2 separate regions of the Homo sapiens genome follow, and region 2 is linked to region 1. Evidence: promoter capture Hi-C in 16 types of primary human blood cells and fetal thymus (Javierre and others, 2016). All regions are on one chromosome and are shown on one strand. Each heading gives the region's core, a stretch centred on a gene start or on the middle of the fragment in contact. The rest is flanking DNA. Distances are from core to core; before and after follow the strand shown. Region 1 holds the start of SSTR4 (somatostatin receptor 4). Region 2 overlaps LOC107985449 (a long non-coding RNA gene).

Region 1 (2,700 bases), core at 80-2,579:
GTGGTCCTGGTGAGGGGGATGCGCTTGCGGCCGGGTTCTGGTTGCAGGGCTTCCTGCTGGCAGGGGAGTGGGGGGCACATGCACCCTGCCCCACCTTTGCTCTTGAGAGCAGTGGCATAGTAGTCCAGGGGCTCCTCCTCAGCACCTCCAGCACCTTCCAGGAGGCAGCAGCGCAGGCAGAGAACCCGCTGGAAGAATCGGCGGAAGTTGTCGGAGAGGAAGCCATAGAGAATGGGGTTGGCGCAGCTGTTGGCATAGCTAAGGATAAGGGACACGTGGTTGACGGTGGCATCAAGGCTGGTCACGAAGAGGTTCAGCAGCTGCACCACGTAGAAAGGCATCCAGCAGAGCACAAAGACGACCACGACCATCAGCACCAGCCTGGTGATTTTCTTCTCCGAGCGCCTGCGCTGCTGCCAGCCAGCGCGCAGGGCCACGGCGCGCATCTTGCCCACGATGAGCAGGTAGCACAGGCCAATGGCCAGCACGGGCAGCAGGAAGCCCAGCAGGAAAGTGTAGACCACGAAGACTGCCGACCAGGCCGGGTGTGGCCACTGCAGGTTGCAGGCCACGGCCTGGCCGCCGCGAGCCGGTCTGGTGTCTGCGAAGATGGCGATGGGGAGAGTGACCAACAGGGATGCCAGCCACACGCCCAGGTTGATGAGCTTGGCCACGCTGGGCCGCCGGTAGGTCGCCGCGCGCAGAGGGTGCACCACGGCCACGTAGCGGTCCACGCTGAGCACGGTGAGACAGAAGACGCTGGTGAACATGTTGAGGCCGTCGACGCTGAGCACCGCGCGGCACAGCACGGAGCCGAAGGGCCAGTGGCGCAGGGCGGCCGACGAGGCCACGAAGGGCACGCTCAGCATGAAGAGCTCGTCGGCTACGGCCAGGTTGAGCAGGTAGATGTTGGTAGCCGTCTTCATCTTGGCGTAGCGAAGGATCACGAAGATGACCAGGGCGTTGCCCACCAGCCCCACCAGGCACACCAGCGCGTAGATGCACTGGATAGCGACCATGCCCGCCGCCCGCGCGTCCCCGGGCCCCGCCACCGCCTCCTCCGCCTCCGCCGGAGCGCTACTGGCATTGGCTGCAGAGGGCCAGGCCGTCCCCAGCCCTTCCTCGCCCCCGGGGGGCAGCGTCGAGGGGGCGCTCATGACCAGGGGTGCCGGCGCAGGGCAGCTGAGCGCGGCGGAGCTAGCGCTGCGCCAGAGAGCTCGGGCGGCGGGCCCAGGGCGGGGGCTGGCGCGCAGACGCGCGGCTCTTCCCGGCTACGCTGAAGAGCTGCGGGCACCGGGGAGCGCCCGCCAATCCCCGCGCCGCGCGCCCCACCGCGCGGGCGCCCGACTGGCTCGCACCGCTGTGGCCCGCGCCCCTCGGCACCCCAGCTCCTGGGGGTCAGCGCCTCACCCAGCCCTGGAGTCGTCTCCGGCCCCGCCCCGTTTTCCCACCTCGGTCGCCCCCTCCCCGCTGCCGACTCTGCCCCAGGTTCCCAGGTCTCCAGTCCGGCTCCAGTGTCAACAGCACCCCCAGCCCCGTCCGGCCCTCCCGGGGTCCCCCGCCTGGCTTCTTTCCTTCAGACCTCTATTCAGATCCCGTCTTCCCCAGCAGCCCTTTGAGGTCCAGTTCCCTGCTTTGCTACAGGGGGTCTGCGGCGGCGGGGCTGGGGGTCCCGGAGTCCTCCCTTTGGGTAAAGATGTGCCCGGAACTGGTCAGGGACCACCTGGAAGCTTGGACCACTTGCCTTGCACTTGACATCCCCTCACCCTGCCCTTTAATCCTCGCGACGACCCATCCTTGCACATGGCTGAGTCCCTTTTATAGAGGCGGAACCTGAGGCTTCCACTGGCGGCTTGGTGAATTTCAGGTCTGTCAGGATGTCCAGTTTTCCCCACAGCTCACCACTCCTTTCTCTGCTCCCCAACCCACTCTGGACAAGTGCAGATGCCGGACCTTTTAACTTCTGTGTCCGAGCAGCTGAGGTGCTATGGGCACAAGGAATGGAGACGGACAGGTGGAGGCAGAGATGCCACCAAAGAAGGCCAAGCCTGTGCTAGCTCCCTCGGGAACTGGCAGAAGCTACGGGAGCCGGACATCTCAGAACCTTCACCCTGTGACCTGGTTCAGTCATTATCCGCGGGTCTCCATCCCTGGCCACTAAAATGTGCCTGGGGAGGACTGTGGTCGAGAGGTCGGGAAAGAAAGGGGTTCCGGCCTGGAATTACCCTTCTTCTGCTAAACTCCAGAGATAGTGAGTTCACTGGCTCCTGGACTGGACACCCAGGAGCAGCCGCCGGCTCCAGCCCTAGTCCCTCTAGCTGGCACAGGGCACAGGAACGTTCCTGAACTGGGGATTGGCCTGGGAAAGTTATTCTTAAAGTAGCTCTGACTTTTAGGATCCTGGCTGTCTTTGGCCCCTTCTCTGTGGGATGGTGGCCCCCTTTAGCCCCCAGTACAGCCCAGAAAGGCCTTTAGTGGGTCTAAAATTGGCCACCTGGGGGGTGGGGTCTCAGCTTTCCGCTGGGTGGCTGGGACAGCGATGGGGAGGAGGGAGTCCTGTTGCAACTGGAGGAGGCCTTTCTAAGACTGGGGGGTGGGGGAAGCTGCCCACTGCTGTTTATCCAGGTGTGGGATGGGAGCACGGGCATGATCAGCACCAGTGCAGCCCCATAGTTGACCTCAACCACTGTCTCCAGTCTC
Region 2 (2,700 bases), core at 7-2,506, 100 kb after region 1:
CAGGGACACAGTCAGATGGAAAAGTGGCCACAGTAATACCCTGGAGCTGGGGAATTGGATAATTAGATTCCAGAGGCCTCACTGTTAACCACTATATTATTTTTAGATAGAAATAAGTTTAGAAATTGAACAAAGAAATTTAAAGGATGGACAAAGAAAATACCACAAAAAGAAAGCAGCAACATCAATATTGATATCACATGAGGTATCATTTAAAGTCAAAGGTAAAATCTACCGAGAGAATGAAAAGCTCTTGAATGTTTATGTATAAGTGCATGTATAAATGTCAGTGACGCATCTGCAGCAATGACTGTTAGAAATGTAAGAACCTCATAAAAACAAGATAGAGGCACAGTGTTTAACAAACTCCTTGCAGGAGTGGCCAAACATATTGCTAAATATAAATAAAAATGCAGATCACTTAAAAACTGCATTAGCATACTTTATTTAAGAGATACTTTTAGCATTTTTGCTGATGAGAGAATACATTTTGCAAATGCTCATGAAACATTGGCAAAAATTGATCATGTTTTAGAGCCAAAGGAAATTTCAAGAAAGCCTCAAAGAGTGGTATTCTCTAATCACAGTGCAATTAAACTAGTGTAATAGTTAACTTTATGTGTCAACTGAACTGGGCCATGGGGTTTTATTTCTGGGTATATCTGAGAGGGAGTTTCTAGATGAGACTCACATTTGAATTGATAGACTGAGTAGAGAAGATTGCCCTACCCAATAAGGGTGTGCATCTTCCAGTCCAACCACAGAGAACCCAAATAGAACAAAAAGGCCGGGGAAGGAGTTTGTTCTGTCTGCCTGGCTGCTTGCGCTGGGATACTGGCTTCCTCCGGCTCTTGGTCTGGGACTGATGCCATCAGCTCTCCTGGTTCTGGCCTTTGGACTCAGACTGGAACTTGCAACCTGAACTCTCTTTGTTCTCAGGCCGATTGGTTCTGTTTCTCTGGAGAACCTTGACTAATACAATTAGAAAATAAAAGTAAAATTTCCCGTGTCCCCTTCCTCTATCACCAATATAACCACCCCAAGTTAAAAATAATAACTTAAAAAAAAACCTTAGGTTAAGCTAGACATGACAACTAAAATTATGGCTTTGTTAGAAGTTAAAGACAATGAGAACACTATATGTTGGTCCAAAATTATAAAGAAAACCCATAGCATTCAATATTTTTGTTAATGAGGAGAAATGTTTAAAAATATATTAACCAAAAGTTGCTTAAGAATGAAGAATTGTACAACAAAATGAACCAAAGGAAGTTAGAGGAAAGAATTTATAAACACCAAGTAGTCATTACCTAACTTAAAATCACCAAAAATACCCACATAAGCAAACAGTAGAACTGATAAATGAATCCAAATCCTCTTTCCAGGAAAGACCAATAAATAAATCAGCCTCTTACACATCTCTTTAGGAAAAATATGGACAGCACAACAGACAACACCACAAAGCAGAAAATAAATGTGAGGGTAGATATAAAGTATTCTTTAAAAGAATATTTTATATAAATGTCATCCGGAACGTTTTAAAATTCACAAGAATTTAATGCTTCTTTAGGAAATCATAAATTACCAAAATTTTACCCAACAAGAAGCTAAAAAGTACACAGATCAATCACTGTAGCAAAGGCTGAAAAGTGTCCAAATCTATTTCTTCAAAAGGTTCCATGTCTAGATCGTTTTATAGAAAAGTTTTATCTGGGAATAGATTATTTCTTTACATGATAAACTGCTCTGGAACTATTCATTTTATGAGCATATGAACTAACAGTGAAACCTGAACAAACTAATTCCCCCCAAAACAGAAAACTAAAAGCTAGTTTCACATATGAATACAAAGGCAAAAACAATAAATAGAATACTAGTACATCAAAACTAGCATTATATGAAAAGAATCATATTTTAATCAAATAGAGTTTCTTTCAGGAAAAAGAGGCAGGGTCAATGTTTAACTTCTGTTTAACCTACCGCAATTCATCAAGAGGATAAAGAGGAAATTTTTTTAAAGAATTTTGAGAAATCATATAATACATTCAATATTTATTTCTCATAATAATACATACCAGAAAGCAGAAAGGAAAGCCCTCAACATGATAAAGGATATTTATCGTAAATTACAGTGACACCATGTTCAACAGAACAGCAGTGAGACTGTTCCTAGCACAGACAGCGCAACAGCCAGGCTCACCGCAAGTCCACGCTTTTTTTTTTTTTTTGAGATGGAGTCTCGCTCTGTCATCCAGGCTGTAGTGCAGTGGCGCAATCTCGGCTCACTGCAAACTCCGCCTCCCGGGTTCACGCCATTCTCCTGCCTCACCCTCCCAAGTAGCTGGGACTACAGGCGCCCGCCACCAGGCCCGGCTAATTTTTTTGTATTTTTAGTAGAGACGGGGTTTCACTGTGTTAGCCAGGATGGTCTCGATCTCCTGGCCTCGTGTTCTGCCCCCCTTAGCCTTGTTCAACATGCTTATGCCTTATTTGAGATAAGAGAAATACTTTGTTTTCCCGGGAATACACTTGAGGAAATCTGGAGGAAAATGAAATTTATCACTGTATATTTTATAGACGAGCTATTTGTTAATAGTAGTGTTTATATTGTGATTATTTAAGCTTTTATTATTGTTTGATTACATTCTGTCGGTGGTCTTTTTCATGGGGCAGGTTTCCTTGTTCATCTTACTAGGATGC

The links. Contacts are between HindIII fragments. The CHiCAGO score rates a contact against its expected background, and 5 or more counts as called.
Region 2: a contact is called between a fragment that was not itself captured here and the fragment with the promoter of SSTR4 in region 1, in 1 of 17 cell types (neutrophils). The highest score is 5.4, in neutrophils.

The regions. Positions count from the first base shown.
Region 1 is chr20:23,033,941-23,036,640 of GRCh38, reverse strand. SSTR4 (somatostatin receptor 4) reads right to left here and starts at 1,329. Exons shown (of 1, transcript NM_001052.4): 1 at 1-1,329. The coding sequence starts at 1,157. RefSeq lists an enhancer at 242-788. The HindIII fragment of the contact is 5,481 bases long and covers 1-1,732 here.
Region 2 is chr20:22,930,032-22,932,731 of GRCh38, reverse strand. The region is part of intron 1 of LOC107985449 (a long non-coding RNA gene); the gene reads right to left. Among named protein-coding and RNA genes, the nearest start is that of SSTR4, 100 kb to the left of the region's middle. The HindIII fragment of the contact is 2,736 bases long and covers 1-2,624 here.